Regions from separate parts of the Homo sapiens genome. Here regions 1, 2, 3, 5, 6 and 7 are each linked to region 4. Evidence: promoter capture Hi-C in 16 types of primary human blood cells and fetal thymus (Javierre and others, 2016). All regions are on one chromosome and are shown on one strand. The core of a region is centred on a gene start or on the middle of the fragment in contact, and the rest is flanking DNA. Distances in the headings are between cores, read along the strand shown. Region 1 overlaps THEMIS (thymocyte selection associated). Region 2 overlaps THEMIS (thymocyte selection associated). Region 3 overlaps THEMIS (thymocyte selection associated). Region 4 holds the start of PTPRK (protein tyrosine phosphatase receptor type K). Region 5 overlaps THEMIS (thymocyte selection associated). Region 6 overlaps THEMIS (thymocyte selection associated). Region 7 overlaps THEMIS (thymocyte selection associated).

Evidence for each region. The method cuts DNA at HindIII sites, captures the fragments that hold promoters and counts their contacts. A CHiCAGO score of 5 or more calls a contact.
Region 1: a contact is called between a fragment that was not itself captured here and the fragment with the promoter of PTPRK in region 4, in 7 of 17 cell types (fetal thymus, naive CD8 T cells, total CD4 T cells and 4 more). The highest score is 10.8, in fetal thymus.
Region 2: a fragment that was not itself captured here is called in contact with the fragment with the promoter of PTPRK in region 4 in 10 of 17 cell types (fetal thymus, naive CD4 T cells, naive CD8 T cells and 7 more); the score reaches 21.0 in fetal thymus.
Region 3: a contact is called between a fragment that was not itself captured here and the fragment with the promoter of PTPRK in region 4, in 1 of 17 cell types (fetal thymus). The highest score is 10.1, in fetal thymus.
Region 5: a fragment that was not itself captured here is called in contact with the fragment with the promoter of PTPRK in region 4 in 7 of 17 cell types (fetal thymus, naive CD8 T cells, total CD8 T cells and 4 more); the score reaches 15.1 in fetal thymus.
Region 6: a contact is called between a fragment that was not itself captured here and the fragment with the promoter of PTPRK in region 4, in 5 of 17 cell types (fetal thymus, naive CD8 T cells, non-activated CD4 T cells and 2 more). The highest score is 9.1, in fetal thymus.
Region 7: a contact is called between a fragment that was not itself captured here and the fragment with the promoter of PTPRK in region 4, in 4 of 17 cell types (fetal thymus, naive CD4 T cells, naive CD8 T cells and 1 more). The highest score is 7.6, in fetal thymus.

Annotation. Positions count from the first base shown.
Region 1 is chr6:127,705,687-127,708,386 of GRCh38, reverse strand. THEMIS (thymocyte selection associated) reads left to right here. Exons shown (of 6, transcript NM_001010923.3): 6 at 1-187. Among named protein-coding and RNA genes, the nearest start is that of LINC02536, 43 kb to the right of the region's middle. The HindIII fragment of the contact is 3,320 bases long and covers 1-2,700 here.
Region 2 is chr6:127,739,641-127,742,340 of GRCh38, reverse strand. All of the region lies in intron 4 of THEMIS (thymocyte selection associated), which reads left to right. Among named protein-coding and RNA genes, the nearest start is that of LINC02536, 77 kb to the right of the region's middle. The HindIII fragment of the contact is 308 bases long and covers 1,137-1,444 here.
Region 3 is chr6:127,807,187-127,809,933 of GRCh38, reverse strand. All of the region lies in intron 4 of THEMIS (thymocyte selection associated), which reads left to right. Among named protein-coding and RNA genes, the nearest start is that of THEMIS, 92 kb to the left of the region's middle. The HindIII fragment of the contact is 4,715 bases long and covers 1-2,747 here.
Region 4 is chr6:128,519,242-128,521,943 of GRCh38, reverse strand. It overlaps PTPRK (protein tyrosine phosphatase receptor type K), which reads left to right and starts at 1,345. Exons shown (of 30, transcript NM_002844.4): 1 at 1,345-1,685. The coding sequence starts at 1,586. RefSeq lists enhancers at 983-1,577, 1,578-2,171. The HindIII fragment of the contact is 3,706 bases long and covers 1-1,886 here.
Region 5 is chr6:127,786,085-127,788,784 of GRCh38, reverse strand. All of the region lies in intron 4 of THEMIS (thymocyte selection associated), which reads left to right. Among named protein-coding and RNA genes, the nearest start is that of THEMIS, 110 kb to the left of the region's middle. The HindIII fragment of the contact is 2,130 bases long and covers 359-2,488 here.
Region 6 is chr6:127,834,596-127,837,295 of GRCh38, reverse strand. All of the region lies in intron 2 of THEMIS (thymocyte selection associated), which reads left to right. Among named protein-coding and RNA genes, the nearest start is that of THEMIS, 65 kb to the left of the region's middle. The HindIII fragment of the contact is 1,969 bases long and covers 445-2,413 here.
Region 7 is chr6:127,757,423-127,760,122 of GRCh38, reverse strand. The region is part of intron 4 of THEMIS (thymocyte selection associated); the gene reads left to right. Among named protein-coding and RNA genes, the nearest start is that of LINC02536, 95 kb to the right of the region's middle. The HindIII fragment of the contact is 4,314 bases long and covers 1-2,700 here.

The DNA of each region.
Region 1 (2,700 bases), core at 36-2,535, 810 kb after region 4:
AGAATGCATATCTTACTTTGGTTGTAAATTATCAAGGGCTTTCTAATAGAAATCATATATAACATTTCTAAATATAAGTCCTTTCACATACTGTGTTTCCAGTTGTCTTGATATTGAAAAGTGTAATAAACTTCATGCTCACCTATTGGAGATTTGGGAAGGTTGAAAATAAACTTCCTAATTTTTATTTGTATGTGTTCTCTTCTATGTTTAACTCTAGAATAACTATCTTCCTGTAACGATTAAGTTAAAATATTCTTTAACTAGAATTGAAATAAATTGTTCACTAAGGAGGGGGCTGCTTGTGCTAAAAAAGCCATGAGGAGGGAGATTGTCCTCCCTGCCCTCTCCATCCCCTATGGACTTACAGTGCTGAGCTCAGTCATAATGACCAAATTTCACAGCATGGCCAAGCTGCATAGATAGGTGCCAAAACTACCAATTATTAATATTGGCCTCTTCCTAATTGAATCAGTCAAGCAGTTTTGGAAAAGGCTGTCAGAAAGGAGTGAGAAATGGAAAGAGGAAAATGTGATTGTTGAGATGGGCTAGCTCAACTCTTACATCCAGGATTTTAATAGAAAAACTCTTTAAGATTAGAGTCAACATATAATGAGACTTTTAGGTGTTTAACCAAAGGTTCTTGGTTCAAGTTGCCTCTAAAAGGAAGATGATAACATGTAAAACGCTGGGGAGAGTCAGAATTAGGATCTAATTATAACCCCGGTAGGCTGGACTACTAAAAATGAAATCCAATAGAATAAAAATATTCTTTTGATTTTACCATGAAAATATTTCCACAACTATAACACTTCTGACTGCTTCTACTTCTACTGCTGTGGTCCAAACTTCAGTCATCTCTGTTGGATTATTGCAAAAACCCTGTAACAATTCTTCCTGTTCCTGCCCTTGCTACCTATCAATCTATTCTGATTGTGAGAACCAGAATGATCTCATTAAAATATGTGCTATTATTACACACCACAGTCATGTCCTACCTCATTCAGAGTAAAAGCCAAAATTCCTAAAATGATCTAGAAAGGTGTGCACAATACATTCCCATTCTCTCTCTGTACTCTTCCTATTCGTTTTGCTCAAGTCATGCTGACCTTCCCATTTGATATGGTTTGGATGTGTCCCCATCTAAATCTCGTCTTGAATTGTAGTTCCCATAATCCCCATGTGTCATGGGAGGGACCTGGTGGGAGGTAATTGAGTCATGGGGACAGTTTCCCCCATGCTGTTCCCCTGATAGTGAGTGAGTTCTCATGAGATCTGATGGCTTTTATAAAGGCTTTTTCCACTTTTGCTTGGCACTTCTTGCTGCCACCATGTGAAGAAGGACGTGTTTGCTTCCCCTTCTGCCATGATTATAAATTTCCTGAGGCCTCCCCAGCCATGCTGAACTGTGAGTCAATTAAACCTATTTCCTTTATAAATTACCCAGTCTTGGGTATACCTTTATTAGCAGTGTAAGAATGGACTAATACACCATTATTCATCAACCATGCCAGGGCTATTCCTACCCTGAGGCCTTTGCATTTGCTGTTCTCCCTGCCTGGAACACTTTTTGCTCTCCTCTCCACACAGGTCACTCCCTTACTTCCTTTAGGCTTTATCCACATATTACCTTCTCAATGTGCCTTGCTCTGGCCACCCTATCTCAAACTGTAACCTCAACTCTTATTGGTCTTTCTATCTCCTTCCCTGCCTTAATTTTCTCCATAATAGTTTATTCTATCTAACAAGCTATATCTTTTACATGTCTTGTTTCTTTTCTGTCTCCTTTACACTAGACTGTAAACCCCCTGAAGGCAGGATTTCTTATTGGTTTCTGCACTACACCCAGACACTTAGAATAGTGTCTGGCATATATCTGGCACTCAATATGTGTTTGCTGAATGAACTGATTAAAGTTAGGAATATGAGAACTCAAGCCAGACTGCCCAGGTCTGAATACTGACTCCCTGTTTACTGGGTTGCCTTGGATAAGTTTGTGAGCCTCCTTCTGCTTCAAATTCCTACATATATGTAAAATAGGGACTAAAATAGACTCTACATTGTAGAGTTGTTGTGATAATTTGATGAATGTATAGATGTAAAGTGCTTGGAGCTTTGTCTGAGAAAAAGTAAGTCCTCAATGCATTTATGTGTTTTTATTTTATAATATATATATGTTCTAAATTATATATAAAATATTACATCAAGGTTTTTTAGTTTTGGAGTCTTGCATCTTTTCTTCTTTGAGTTTTCTTTCTTTCCCACTTCCACTCTTATGTGCCATGACAAATACTCATCTAGTCCTTGTTATCTTAGCTCAGGTTCCCTAGAAGCACAGGTTAAGGGGGAAGATACTCGTTCAGTGGTTTATTGGAGTGTTCTTAGGAGAAATCTGTATGGAAGTGGAAGAAGTCAGCAGGATAGGAGAAGGATCTAGATAAATACATGGTTTCATAAGAACTCCAACCTAATCTTTCCAGCCTGATCCTAAGGGTACCCTGGAGCATGGATTATACTACTGTGTTGATCCCTCAGCTGAACCTTCAAAAATTTGTTCCAAATCCAAGAGGCCAGCAGGTTCCAAATTGTGTACCCTATGATACAACAAATGAGTCCCATAGGTATATCCCACTGTTGCATCTCCCTTGTGACAAATTGTGTCACCTGGTCTGAGATGATATTACACAGGATATCATGTTG
Region 2 (2,700 bases), core at 41-2,540, 780 kb after region 4:
TTTTTTTGTTTGTTTTTTTTTTTTTTTAAGCAGAGTCTCACTCTGTCACTCAGGCTGGAGTGCAGTGGCATGATCTCCGCTCACTGCAACCTCTGCCTCCTGGGTTCAAGTGATTCTCTTGCCTCAGCCTCCCAAGTAGCTGGGACTACAGGCACACACCACCATGCCCAGCTAATCTTTTTGCATTTTTTGATAGAGACGGGGTTTCACCATGTTGGCCAGGCTGTCCTCAAAACTCCTGACATCAGGTGATCTGCCTACCTCAGCCTCTCAAATTGCTGGGATTACAGGTGTGAGCCACCATACTCAGCCTGGTGATTCTGTGTTTAATTTCTTGACAGACCTTCATACTGTTTTCCACAATGGCTCATATCCTCCTTGCCCACTCTCCCTGTATTTCATGTGATCCTCTTGACTGTTCCACCTAGAATGTGTTTAAATTGTTTTCACTTGTTCTGTAGCAATATCTTTTATCATTTTCGCTACTGCCAGTTGCTTGGGACCAACTGTCACCTAATGGATTTTAATGGTTCCTTCTCTTATATCTAGCCTGAGCAGCCTCATGTAACCTTGACCCATTATTTTGGCCAGCCAGTAGCTGTTACTCTTATATTGCAGATTAAGAAATTAATTTGATCTCTGTTATGAGAATAAGCTGATGCAGCAAAGGATTTACTGAAAGGCAGTGTAACCATAAATGACTTCCACAGGTCACTTAGATAACTGAAGAAATCAAAGTTTCTAAATACCTAGTTGAACACTTTCTGCTGTGCGTCTGGATTTTTGTGTGCTTCAAACCTTAATTCATTCTGAAGCTGTCATATATCCTTAGTCGGTTTATTCTCCTCCTTTGGTTTATTTTTGCATCTTTATTTTGTTATGGAGTGTGGTACATAATATATCTAGCAATTTTTTCCTCCTTCTATGATTCTAAGTCTATAATATTGCAAATAAAATTTGATAAGCAACATCAAACAATGCTGTTCTATCAGCTATTTTCAAGATCAGAAGAGACATCAAGAAAAATAAAAATAATTATTTAATTTTAAATGAGGTACACACCATTATTTGACCCTTAAAAGTTATTGAAAATGCACCAGAAAACTTAACATCAAGTTTAAAGGAAATGGTAAGCTTACGCATAGGTTTATAACTTATGGGTTGTGAACTGCTAGCTTTTGCTGCTTCTGTGCCTATAAACCACATATTTGCTGAGAAATAGTAAAGTTGGATACTATGTTTGAATATTTAAAACAGAATTTCCTACAGAGCTACAGTATTTGTAGGGTTTTACTGGGTTCTAATAGATGTTATCTATAAAATTTAAGTACTTTTCAGGTGTGGGGAAGTAAATGTGCAAATGTTTCTCTGTGTATGATGGAGGGTAAGAGAGAAGTGGAAATATTTTCAAACATTATTACAAGAGCAAAATTTTTAAGAAGCTTTTTGAATTTTAGAGCACTTACTGGTAATATAAAAAATATATGTCACAAAATGTCCCCTAAATTTTTATTTCTTTTTACTTAAGAAAAGATAGTAGTAAGTGGTTTATAGTTTATATAGCGGAGTTCTAGTGACTCGTAAATGCTCTCTGGAGGTATAATGCTATGTTCATCACAGATTGCTTGAATATATAAATTCTCTTCTTCTCCACAGCTATTTGTAAGCACATACTAGCTTTATTTTCGGATAGCTAAAGAAAAAAATGGCCGTTATTTACGTTCTCATGTCGTCCAAAGCATGTCAGCAAAACAAGCCTGGACTTATATATGGTCACCCTTTTTGATGACATTGGGAAGTTTCAGGCCAGTTAAGAACCACTTTCAGGAGAACCAGTTGGACTGACTATGCAGTTGAGTTTGATTAAATCACATTTGTTGCATTTTAAAAATAATCACAGTTTGAATTTTACATCCAATAAAGTTTTTTTTAGCAACATTTAAATCCACTAGAGGCTATCTACCAGGGGTCACAAACGGGTAACTTCAGCCATAGAATCAGTCACAAATATGATCCTTAGTTTTTTCTCCATTCTCTATCTTGAGTCCTGCTTCATGGGCTCTGAAGGTGTTTGAGTTTCCAGCACTTAATTTCACGGGGATTTTAAATGATTTTAAATGTCCTTTGTTCCCACCTGCCCAGAAAAGACCTACAAAGCAGGAAAAAAAAATCAATTAGGTTCCTGTTGCCACTGCTCTAATTAATTTCCTCCTTCTTTCCCTGGAGGAATCAGGGGAGAATTATTTCTACCTCAAGGTCCAGGGCTCTCTTCTCCAATGGCTCTTTTCCAACCCTGTCCTTACATGCCCGTGGGTACAGCCAGAGATGATTCTGGAGAAAATTGACATGGGCACTGGCCAATCAGAGCCCAGTTATTGAGAATGGATGCATGTCTGCTCTTCAACAGTGCACGCCAGCGAATGTCAGCCCTGCAGTTAATGGTATTAAGAACCACTCTGTATTTTTGACTATTCATAGTGGAACCTTAGACAGGAATATCAGAAAAGTAGCAAATTGCGGATTCATACCAAATCTCATTTAAGTGACATGCTTGCCACGATTTGTTACGGTACAGCATTAAATAGGCTACTCTGTTTCACATGATCACCTCCTCCTCCCAACTGGCTGGTTCTTCATTTATTCTGAGCCCTCAAAGGCAGCTGGAAATAATTTCTTTCCTTTTTCTTTTTCTTCTTTTTA
Region 3 (2,747 bases), core at 64-2,563, 710 kb after region 4:
TAAAGATGTTAAGAGGTTCTGGAGCCATTTTCATTTGAGGAATAGTTGAAGACATTGAGTGATAATCTAAAATTGGAAGACTTGATACTAGATGATATTAGTTATTTTATACATTTAAATAGTTGCTTTGTGGCAGAGTGCAGACTTATATTCCATTATGACATCTTCAACACTGGGTGAAAGTTAAAGGGAGGACAAATTTGGTGTAATATGTTGGAACAGGTTTCTTCTCCCCAAAATGTTTATAGTAGAAGATAGGAAATCATGTCAGTGATATTGTCAGGGAATCCCTGCTTTGGTTGAGAATTTATCAGACAGTTGAGAAGAGTCTACAGTTCTTTGTTTATGAATAGTTCCTTTAATTCTAGTGTGATAGATAAAGCATTATATTTTCTCTGAAATCACTTTAAAATGTCAGAGGATGCTACAATTCACCTGTATTTAGACCTACTAACCTCCTTATTTTCAGCGATTATTTTTTACCATGAAGGCAGGAATCTGCTTAATACATTGTTTATAGAATGTAAACAGAAGCTCTTTCAGTTTCTTCATAATCTACTCCAAAAATTTTGCAAATATTTCTTATTCTCACAAAGTCATCCTTTCATATATTCCTTTTATGTTTCTTTTGATATTTACATGAAGTCTCTTCTATCATGTGTGCTTTTGAAGAACATTTTTTATACTTCATAGGTAGGAATCAGCCATTAAAAAACAGCCTCTAAGATTATGGATTATATATGGAATATTGCTTTAAATTTGGATAACAAATAGTAAGAGTTATTCAGAGTTTAAATATTCAAACTCATTTAGCTCATTAAAATGTGGTTTTACATGCACAGAGAAGAGTCCTAGATGCTTCATTATATGAATTTACTTTTGCCTTCCCAATGGATCATTAACTTTACTAAATCATTTCTTGCATTAAGTAACAGACAGATGTATGGGCAATCTAAGAGTAAGAATCTAAAATTCACCCTGCATTAGCCAAATTAACCTATAGCAGGTATCTGCGGTTGGTTATGAACACTACAAGCTCATCTAAAATGTTTGGAAATTAAGAATATATGAGGACAGGTTACAGGAACTAGGAGAAATAGAAAGAATTGTTTTCCAAGGTAAGATTGGCAACTGTTCTCCAGCTTTAGCAATACCTAAAAAGAAAAAAAAATAGATTGGTGTAGAAACTTTAGAATTATAATTTCAGTTTGGGCAGGGACACGAGTGGGGGTATGGTTACCAACAGGATTATAGCCTACTTCAAGACCTATGAGATTTTATGTGAAATAATATTATAGTTGTTCTTTAAATGTGTTAGTTAACTGTTTATAAGGATAATGTATGGAATCTAAACAAAGGAGTGGGAATAGGCCAGGGGAATCCTCAAAATTTTCTTTAGGTTTATGACATAATGCAGAAATAATGTCTTTAGGATCTGTGCATCTGAATTTTAATCTGATGGAAACAATATTATAAAGTGACTAAATAAATGAAGCTGGGCCTGAAATTGTGTTCTAAATAGAAATGTTGTCAGGTAGATTCTCCTTCCTTGAAGGTTGGTTTGTATGTTAGAAGTGGTTTCAGATAGTTCAGAAGAACATATACTCACTGGGGTTTTTGCCTGTCGTGGATATATATAGCTACGACTCCTGAGTGCCACACAGGAGAAATGCAACTTCTGTATTCTGATGAAAGGGTCTATAACAAGACAGAAAACAAACCTTTGGTTGAAAGATGAGATATTCCATGTCTTCAGAGACTGCAGCTGGGACCAGAAATCTTGTATTTCACTAACTCTGTTTGGCCATTTAATGCCCAAGTGTCCACTTTGCTGCCTGAGTTTCTAGATTTCTGTCGGACAAGAACACCCATAGGAGACATTAAGGCAAAGAGCAAGGGAGGCAGTAATGGCAAGGTACTGTGAAATGAGCAGAAAAAAATCCTGCACCAGAATTAGAGTGAGGGCTGAAAAAGGCAGAAGGAAAGCAATGGTTCCTGGGGAGTGCACAGAGAACACTTCAGCAGCTGCTGCTGGTGCTAAATTGTCACTTCTGATCTGGTTTGACAGTTACAGTGGCTGAAATGTGTTAGAGAAATCCACGTTACTGGGCTAAATCTAGATCATTAGAGAGTAGTATTATACCCACTTGTTTGTTATCAATAGGGTTTGGTCACAAACAATGTGACTTGTTTTTGTTTTTGTTAACCTGATGTAGTATAAATACATTAAGAGTGTTTGAATTTGTAGCTGACTCTGAGCTTCTGAACACTCACACCTTTCTACTCATGGTAGGTCCTTTTCGTGTAATATAGAAGCTGTAGTACTGATTTCCCTCTGAATAGGGAAGATTACTGTTAGAGAGTTTTTCAAAGACCCAACACAATGAAGATAGAATACGGACATATTTAAATATTGGGTTTTTGAATCTGAAAATAAGAGAAATAAAGGAAACTTTTGAACTTCCTTTAAAAAATTGACAAATTTTGACTGTGAGATACAATTTTAGCTTTTTTGACTGTGAGATACAATTTTAGCTTTTTTGACTGTGAGATACAATTTTAGCTTTTTTTTTTTTAATGAATTCTCACTCTGTTGCCTAGGCTGGAGTGCAATGGCGTGATCTTGGCTCGCTGCAACCTCTGCCTCCCGGGTTCAAGCAATTCTCTGCCTCAGCCTCCCACGTAGCTGGGATTACAGGCACCCCCCACCACGTCCAGGTAATTTTTGTATTTTTAGTAGAGATGGG
Region 4 (2,702 bases), core at 96-2,595:
ACTATTCTCATAGAATTTTTAAAAGTCTTTTCTGCCTGATATGTATGTGTGTATAATATGTATTTATATATGTATATATTTGTGTGTATATTTATTACATTTTTGTTTCCACAGGCTCTGTCATAAGTCTGGTCATTAATAGCATATATTTGATTAAAAGAATATGTGGCTTGGTAAATTATGTGAATGTTATATTAAAATGAATTTCACATTGTCTTGATTTACAAAGGCTAAGATGTCTGAGAAACTGAGAGATGTCAATCAACAGACTATTGTTTTAGCAATTGTACATAACACATAAAAATTCTGAATCAAAGTTATTATGTTATTCAATTGTGACCATACCTATTTTTTGTGACATTTTACAAAAATGAATAAAGTATGCACCATACAGTCTTACCACAGAAGTAAGGCAGGGTGGCATATGGCGAAACCACTTCAAGCTGCTGAAGTAGTTAACTGTGAAATATTTTACTGTCATAATATAGCATTATTTTCTGCCAGATGAATCATTCCGAAGAAGCTGTTTTCATGGTCAGTGTAAAAGTCCTTTTGTTAAATACTTATGTCTTAACTACCTACTAGATATTAAAAAAAACAAAACCACACACACACCAGACCTAGGTGCAAGGAAGGGATAATAAGCCCTGATGCAGTTCTTAGGTGAGAACTGGAAAGGGGCCGGAGGGTTTCAGAGCAACAAGCAAAGTCAGTGAAGCAGAGTAAATCCAAATACTTGGCCAATGACAAATAAACCAGAAAGGAGACACGCCAGCTGTTCACGCTGGAAAGTTACTGATCGTTTATTCTGGTTCAAGTTTTATTTATTCTATGAATAAGGGACAAGTTTTCGATGGGGGTGGGGTGTCTTATTCCTTATTACAAGAATAAGGAACGGGGAGTTTTCAAGGCAGGCGGGTGTTTCCTCAGGGCGCTTCCACACTCCCCTTTCAATCAGCAACCGCTCGGGGGGACCTCCACCTTGGGACGGAACCCCAGGACGCCTCTCCTCGGACGGCGGGGGTTTCTCTGCGCGCGTCCTCGGTCGTCTGGTCGCACGGCTTACCGAACTCTCGCCTCTCAAATTCTGAGTTCTGGAACAGGGCAGCGAGCTGCGCCGGCTCCCCTTTCTCGCTCGCTCCCTCCGAGCAGCGGCTGGCGGCGGGGCCCAGGCTGCGAACAAAGGCGGCGCGGGGCGCGCGGCCGGGGCTGGCGCGCGTCTCTCCGGCAGGAGGCGGTGGCGGCGCCGCGCCCGAGCCCGCATTCCTCAGAAGCGCCCGGAGCCCGCGGGGCGACGTCACCCCCGGCTCCGCCCCCGTCCCTCCCCGAGCAAAGTAACTCTTGACTAACAGGAGCAGCCTCCGCCGAGCATGGAGAGCTGCCGCCGCGGCCGGCCGGCGACGCTGGCGACGCTTTCGCCCCTGAGGTAGTTTGGCGACCGCGAAGAAGGAAAAAGGGCGGGCGGGCGGCTGTCCTCTCACCGTCCTCACCCCGCGAGGCCCGGCCCGCTCCTCCGTCGTGGATTTCGCGGCGATCCCCCCGGCAGCTCTTTGCAAAGCTGCTTGAAACTTCTCCCAAACTCGGCATGGATACGACTGCGGCGGCGGCGCTGCCTGCTTTTGTGGCGCTCTTGCTCCTCTCTCCTTGGCCTCTCCTGGGATCGGCCCAAGGCCAGTTCTCCGCAGGTGAGTGGCCGGGGGGCGTCCCCGACGAACGCCTGGAGTCCTGGGCTCACGAGGGGTGAGCCAGGTCCCCGCTAGGGCTGGGGACAAGGATCGTGGGGAGCTCTCTCTGTCCGGGGGTGGGGAACACAGGGTAGAGGGAGGGCTGTCCCCAGAGTTCGTGCCAGGTGGGACGCGGGGCACCCATTGTTCCTCTCCGAAGCTTGCTCGGGGCTCAGGCTGGCACGGTCTAGCCGGAGAGTGTGGGGACCTGCTGGCTTCGGCGTCTCGCGTGGCCTGCGCCGGGCTAGTGGGGAAGAGAGAAAGAAAAAGTAGTTACGACTCCCGTGACGGCACTCTGTTGCTTGTGGTGCGGGTTTGTTGCTGTCTGCCACTTGGGTGTTTAAACAAATTCCCTGGGAAGCCATTGTCAGAAATGTGGAGATTCGAAGGGACTGACCTCGGCGCGCTTTGCCAGGTGCTTTTTGTCCCGGGAATAACCTCCCCTGACTATTGTCTAACTACTTCCCCGTCCCTCCCGGAGTCCCCTTTTCTCCTCCCCCAGCTCTGGGTTGCTCCCGGGCTTGCCCTGTGCGCTCGGGCACTGCTTGGAGCATGTTCTGTGTGTGTGTTGGCGGAGCCCTGTAAGATGTGTTGAAATGCGGTTCTAAGGACCCACTCTGAGCGTTCATGGGCATCGAGGTCTGGGCGCCTGGTGGAGGAAGCCTGACTCGCGCGTGGGAGCCCGCTCCTCGGGCAAAACCACCGCCAGGCTGGCCCCGCGCTCCCCGGATCCGGCCTGGGGCTCTGGCCCCGCGCTCCCCGGATCCGGCCTGGGGCTGGAAGCGGACTGTAAATGTCTGCCTTCTGCCGGAGAACCCAAAAGGAGACAAGTGGAGCGTCTCGCTGTAGCCCTGGGGGTTCTCGGTCAAGCCGCTCAGAGAAGTCCGTGAACCCTGGCTCTCCCGGTCCCGCCCTCTGTTCCCCTCCAGTTTTGTTATCCTTCGTGTAGGTTGGTTGCTTCTTTCGTTCTCTCCTCTG
Region 5 (2,700 bases), core at 174-2,673, 730 kb after region 4:
GTAGGGAGGGGTTAGTGAGGATTAAATGAAATAGCCTTGTCTGAGTAGAATTTATACACTGTAATAATGTATTGCCTCTTTAATGATGAAAGAAATAATCTCTGCTGATGTGATCATTTTTGTTGTGCCTTTTCAAGAAAATATATGGGGCTAAAATGTTAAAATAACTTATTTTCAAGTAGAGTACTATAATCTGAAAATACAATTGAGTACCTTCTTACTGTCCGTAAATGAATACTCTCAAAAGTTCTGATAGTTTTAATTAAGGTAATAATTATGAATGTCATTCATTTGTTTAATGAAAATGTCAATATTGGCAAATAAAGCATTTTAATTTTTTCCTGTGGGATAAGAAGCTTCCTTTGTATTCATCCCTCAACCTTTCATTATTCAATACCAAAAGCTGTAGAGTAAATCAGGGAAAGTCACTAGGTTGGTGTCAATCCCTGGATTTGATTATTGAGAGGCAATTCTCCATGAAATATTTTCAGATTACCACACAGTCCAATCTTTTTGAGGAAAGACCACTGGCAAACTTGGTTAAAGTAGGGTTGAATAGCAAATGTATCTTGGAAGATAGAGATAGTAGGTTGCTTCAGAGAGGTTTAGAGACGTCTCCCCTGTAAACATTTGCTAACATCGCAAAATAAAAGACTCTCCCTCACCTGAGGAAAGGATGGGTCAATGTGCCAGCCAAACTCCAAGTGTCATAGTTTGTGAGTCCATGGTGGTATACTCAACTCTTGTCTGTGCAGGATAACATTAGTCTCTCATAGCCTTCTCAGTGCTAAGATGCTCTGTGAATATTCAACTATCTGTTTTCTAATCTAGACACTTTGTGTTTATTACCAGAAGAGCATCTATTTATCTATCTATCTATCTATCTATCTATCTATCTATCTATATCTATCTATCTATCTATCTATCTATCTATATCTGTCTATCTCTATCTATCTATCTATCTATCTATCTATCTATCTACCTATCACTGTGGCAGGCTGACTTTTTAGCTTATAAATATAGTTAGTAGACTTAATTTTAGATAATACAGATGTCATTCCTTTATTAACCTCATGCCATGCTGATGTTTGTAATGATGAGAAACGAGAATCATTTTATGGTATCGTTTATCAAGATATTGTATATATCATGTGTTCTCTATGATACATTCAAAAAACAGATCCCAGTAATAATATGTTTACAGTATGGAGTTCTTTACACACACATACTTTCAGGACAGTTGAGATAGAGAGATAAAAGCATTTCCCTGGTGCCAGTGGTAGGTTTGAATTTCTTTGAAACATATCAAGATAAGGTGATGCCATGCAAAGAACATGGTGACATGGGTGCAGCAGAGTGTCAGCTAGGAGCAGACTAGATTCATCTTGGCGGACCTAGTGGACTAGTGATATCTGAGGCCTTTTATGTGCATGAGTAGATCTATGCAAGTTTTCCAGCTAAAGGAAGAAGGTGATGTGTGCATGTGTTTGTGTGTGTGTGTGTGTGTGCGTGCACACATGTGCATGCTAGAGTGCAGGAAAGAGACAAAGATAAACAGGAAAGTTGGGAAAATTTAGAATATATTAAAAAAAACCCTATATCTTGCTTCCTGTTTGCCACAATTAGCATCACAGCCTCTGGAAGATGCAATGGTTAATAATTGCTGCTGATTCTTTGATATGGCTTTTCCTGGGGACAGTAGGGAGTCAGCTTGAGTAAAGACAAATCCTAGAAAGGGTGCTTTTTCAGGGAGATTCCTAACAGCTAACATAGTGGCAATGCTCTTGGAATCGAGTTTTTTTAGGAGCTCCAAACCCAGTGTCCCCCTCTTTGGTGGTTGCAAAGTTGCTTTTTCTCACAGCTACTGTGATTGCAAGGCTGCTGGTTTTCAAGTCTGTCATGCAGCTGAGAAGAATTGCTATAGGACAATTCAAAACGTCACAAAGCTCACATTCTTATCAAGATTTAGTCACTTTTCTTAAAAAAAAGATTTCTTTTTCGTTAATTTCTAGAGTTCTGCAAAAGTTGATTCTGACAAATTTTGCTAGTGGTCATTGCCTTTATGCTGAAATAGATTTTCAGAAGTCCTTAGCCTGCCATTTCTAACTGTTGGTCTTGGGCAAATTATTTAATCTCCCTTTTTCTCAATTTTCTAGTTCATAAAACAAGCATAGTAACATGCCCTAGAGAATTGTTGTGAGGCTTAAGAAAGCTCATTCAAGAAAACCACTTAGAATAGTACTTGGTACCTAATGAATACTCAACCAACACTGGCTGTCAGTATCAGTATATTCATTTTAAATACTTAAGTTTAGATATAAACAAACCTACCTTTTATTTTTCCCAAATTTTGGTTCTATGCTCACTTTTTATTTTTCTGAATTGGTTTATCTGGCTACAAAGTTTTACAGATTCTATTTCACAACGTTTCAGACCATAGCAGTTGATAATGTTTTACATTCCATTACACAGACTATTCCCTGAAGCTTTTTGGAACAATAACAGATGGCCAAGCTGTTGAAGATATTATGATTCTACTTACTGTTCAAATATGTAGGCTAGAACAGGGTAATTTTGCTTTCTGTTACCTGAGAAAAATAAGAATGCCACATTTATTTATGTACTTTTATCCATGTGGTTTATAAAATTTCACTTTTTGAGAGGATTGTCCCAGGGTGCAAATAGTGCAAAATATCTTAT
Region 6 (2,700 bases), core at 180-2,679, 680 kb after region 4:
TTTTCTCATTGCAGCTCTATTCTTCCTATTATGAGGTAACTTCCTTCTGGCTTTTTGCAGTAGTTGGTCTATTATTCTTAGTTTTTGATGATATGGTAAGTTTTCATCGTTTTCTATCATTTTCTGTGTCTTTTTGTGTATACTTTATATTGGAAGGTCAGGGACGGCCATATCCAGGGCTGCCAGACAGCCAGCATTTAAACTCCTCTTAATCAAACACAAACCTTGGAAAACCCCAATTTGTTTATCTTCAGTGTCTAAAGTGATCAACAATAGCAGCTCCAAATGCTGTGCTCTTTCCTGGAAGTGACTGTCTGGGTCAATCTCTGAATAGTTTTGAGGCAGTTCCATAGGAGTTACTTGCACGAGACCCCCCAGTGCTCTGAAGAAATTCATCTCAGAGCTGTTCAGGTGTTCGTGCTGACCAGGTACCAGGTCAAAGCTTCCAGAGAGGACCGTCAGGGGCCAGTAAGCTCCTGTCCAAGTCAAATCCACTGGGAGAGTTGTGGGTTAGCCAGTTCATGAGCCCAGTGCTGATTTTAGGCAGGATTTTCAAATTCATGCTGTTGAAGTTAGTTTTATTGCCTAGTAATATGGAACCAAAAGAATGTGTTTAGAGAGAAAATGCTCCTTTTTATATACTGGTGAATTTAGAAAAACAAAAATTCAGTTTTCTTTATTGTGCAAATCAAAATCTATTTAAATCCTAAGCCCTGACATTCATTTAATACTTATGGTTACATTGGGAAATTATAGCTCTTTCTAATTTGAATTTAATGTAAACTGATTTTTAATTGTTTTGTATAACCATGGGTAACAGATTTTTTTGAACACTGCATGATAAAAATCAGCAAATATGTCAGACAAAGCACAATGTTACAAGGAAACACCACAGCATATGTTGACAGTTATAGAAGAATTGCTGCTGTTTTCACCCTTCACACCAGAATAATTTCTTCAATATTTACCTCCCATGTGTAGAGAGAGAAACATATGGGGCTTTACATAATCATAAGCATAAACAGGTGGCTACTTAGGTACATTTAATTTGCAGGCAACATCAATACTGAACAACACAATCAGCTCCACATGGCTCCCAAACTCTTTCTACTAACATTCCATTAACAAAATTAAGATCATTAAAATAGAGGGAGGGTATAGTCCTCCCTCAACTGGCTTCAGCTACCTTTCAGAGTCATGAATAAAACACTTTTTCAAAAATGCCTTGGCATTTTGCTGTTTTCTTTGTTCAAGGGAACTTCAGTAACTGTGTATAATGTATACCTTGTGAATAACAACGAGCAGCATAATATTTGCATTTAAAATGTGCTTACATCTTTTATTCTCCCTCTAATCTGCTCATTATGGGCATAAAATTATGATGGTTAAATTCTAAGTAATTTATCAAAGCATGGGGTCGGACAAGCTCCTCAAAGCAACCTGGAAATATTTCTCCAAAGGCAGTCCACCTAAAGAGGTCACCTGAGGCTCATTTCCATATTCAAACATGCTGGTGAAATCTGTGGAAATTATCATTCCTGGAAATTTTTGCTCAATCTGTGCCAGATGCTGAGCTGTAGATTCCATATATTTTGTTATCTCGATTTTGATCCAGGCTAGAATATCTAATTTGTCCTCGTTGGCATTGAAATTACATAGGTACCAATTTTTCTGACCTTATAACCATCCTACAATGGCTTAGAATCCCAGGGTAAAGGCAAATGAGGAGACTTAATAACCACTATGTTTTTAATCATTTGGTGCTTACTAGCTGTTAAGTACTACCTAATCATGTTACCTGTATTAGCTTATTTAATCACCACAATGACTTTATGTGGTAGATGATATAATTTTTCTCATTTTATGAAAAATGAAATTGTAGCCCTGAGACTTTAAATTCTGAAGTATACATGTTAAGGAAGGGGCTGAGGCCAGAATTAAAACCCAGGCTAATAGGAATTGTCAAGCCATAATCTTAACCACCCCACTCTAGTTGTGTTCCCTTTATCCTGAAAGTTCTACTGCCCAAAATCACCTAGGGCCTGGGAATCCTGAAAATTCTACCTAAAATCACCTAGGGCTAGGAACAGCAAATATGTGGTATTGTGAAGATCCTCTTAACAATGCTTTGTGAGAGGTTTGGGGGTGCCTAAGGTCTGTGGAGGTTCTTTCTAGCCCTGATACCTCTATGTGTCTTCTCAAAACACAAGGAACAGTGCTCTGCAGAACTAATGAGCATCTAGGGAGCTGTGTTGCCATCAAGGTTATGAAAATAACAATTTCTCACATTCTCTCTCCTCATCGTAGGTCTATTACTCACTCTCGCTGCCTGGGAGAGAGAAAGTTTTAACATGAACAAGTGTATGTATGACGTGCGGCACATTTATTAATAAGCTGTGACTACAATAAAGCTTTAGGCCTAGATATCAGATTATATCATTTGATCTTAAGAGCTAACATTATTAATATGTAATTTGTTAAGCATCCCAAATGTGTTAGGTTTTGCAGTCACTCCTTTCAAGGAGTTTAAATGTTACTGGGAAAGTTTATTTGTTTTCCCCATGCAATGGTTGAACCAAAGAGGTAAAAATGAATTGAAAGATTTTATGATATATTCTTTTACCTCTGCAGGTAAAAGCAATATGAAAAACTATTAATAGCTACTGCAGACAGTTTCAATTCAATTATTATTATTATTAC
Region 7 (2,700 bases), core at 198-2,697, 760 kb after region 4:
GTTGAGAAAACTAGAAATCCACATGCAAAAAAAAAAAAAGAGATTCGATTCTTAGCTTACACTATACATCAATATTGACTCAAAATGAATGAGAAACTTAGACATAAGACTTGACACTGTAAAAATCATAGGGTTTTCAGTTGGGAAGCTACATAATCTAATTTACATTTCAGAATGATCCCTTTGGTTACCCTATGAACAAGAGATTATAAAGGGATCAAGAGAAAGAAAGAGAGAGAGAGAGGAAGGAAGGAAGGAAGGAAGGAGGGAGGGAGGGAGGGAGGGAGGGAGGGAAGGAGGGAAGGAATGAGGAAAGGAGGGAAAGAAAGGAGGGAAGGAAGGAAGGAAAGAAGGAAGAAAGAAGAAAAGGAAAATAAACAACATACGAAAAACCTTTTAAATAATCCTGTGAAGAGGGAGTGGTGACTTGGACTAGGGATGTAGCGATAGATGTGATGAGATGTGGTTACATGCTGGATGTGTTTGAAGACAGAGTCAACGTAATTCAATGATGAATATATGTGAGATAAAGTGTTAAGGTTGACTCTAAGGTTATTAACATGTGCAGCTGGGAGAACAAATTTTCCACTTACTGCGATGAGGAAGACTGGTGTGGAAATATGTTTGAGGAGAAGTGAATAATTAAGTTTTGGAAATATTAAATTTGAAATTAAACATTCATACCCTTTGAACACCCAACTTCACCCCTTGGAGGGTAGTTGAATATATTCAATTTATATGAGTCCAGTGATTAGGGAAGAGGTTACAGTCAGAGATGTATATTTTGGTGTCATCAGCCTACATATTTGTGAATATGGACTGAGCAAACCTCAAAATTTACCTATAAGTGTTATTCATTGATTAATTTGCTTAACATTTTTGAGAGCATTGTGCTGTGTTCTAAAAGTTTAGTATATGCAATTTTCTTATAATCAAGCATCTTTATTTAAAAGTATTACTTCATTCCCCTGTATAAATTTATGCTTAAATAGCAAACTCCTCTTCTTTACTAATTAAAATAAAGGTACTCTTCTTGAGTTCTGAAAACACAACCAATTTCTGTATGTAATACACAGCCATTTCAAAATAGAATATCTAATATGACTGTCTTGTAATATAATTCTTTCCAGACTTCTTGACATGTCTAGCATTGAGTTCTGCTGGTTAACTATTTTGTAAGTTCATAAATTGTGCATAATACTGCACCAATTACCTAAGTAACTGGCTTAAATTACACAATTTTGGACTCAAAAGTCTTGTAAACTTTTATTATAATTCTGATTGTGTTACTTGCCCAACAAAGAAACAGTTTCTTTTTCACAAAATGATCCAATAATTCTTTCTTTCTTTCATGTGATTACCTGTATCACCTGTAGTTCGTTTATTCTTCTACATACTCTAAACATTTTTGTATTAAATCACACAATTAGAAATCTTGATATGCATACACATATTTATATAGTTGCCTTCTTGTGAAAGATCTTTTACTTTTTTCAACTTTAATGTTACACCTTTAGCTTACATTAAGTCACTTTTTTATCTTTCTGCTATAGGGAATTTGACATTTCTGCCTTTCTTTTTCCATTCAAGACATATTTCATTCAAGAAATATGTATTGGGCACCTATGAGGCATTAGGGCTATTCTTTTACTGTAGTATTAAATATTTATAATATATATTATATATGTTATATATATAATATATATTTATTATAAGGTAATTGTTAAGGAATGGGTTTTTCATTATTACAAGGTATTTTCATAAATTCTTCCAGTTAAGCCATGTTTCTCTAAGAAATTGATCCGTTTGTGGGTTTAAGTGTAGAAATTGATTATGTATTTCCTCTTTTGGGATACTAGGAAGTTCAGAACCCAATTTACAGTCCAACTCTATCAACCATAAAACATCTTATGATTTGATATTTGTATACTCCCTCCTTTTAAATTACATCTTATTTTTATTCTATTCTTAATTCTTTATTTTTGTAATCTGTTAATTTTATGTATAATTTTTAACCAGTTCAAATCTCTTTTGTTATGAACATGTATAAGTATATAAATATATATTGTTATATACATATATGTGTATTTGTATATAACATATATCTATGTGTGTGGGTGTGTGTATATATACATATTCGTATGTGAATATAATTTATCTATCTATATTTATGTATGTATGTACCTATCAATCTATAGAGAATAATTATTGTCTAAATATGTACTGCCCTTTATTACCTGATCGCTCTCTACCAGGTAATTCCTGAAGATAATATTCTTAGCTATACTGATATTAGACTTGTCTATATGACTTGACTTGGCCAATAAAATGTGATATATGGGCCGGGCATGGTGGTTCATGCCTGTAATCCCAGCACTTTGGGAGGCCGAGGCGGGCCAATCACGAGGTCAGGAGATCGAGACCATCCTGGCTAACAAGGTGAAACCCCGTCTCTACTAAAAAATACGAAAATCTAGCCGGGCGTGGTGGCGGGCGCCTGTAGTCCCAGCTAATCGGGAGGCTGAGGCAGGAGAATGGCGTGAACCCGGGAGGCAGAGCTTGCAGTGAGCCGAGATAGCGCCACTGCACTCCAGCCTGGGCGACAAAGCGAGACTCCGTCTCAAAAAAGAAAAAAAAAAAAGTGACATGTGTGACATGTATCACTTTCACTTACATATATATATATGTAAATATAGTCTA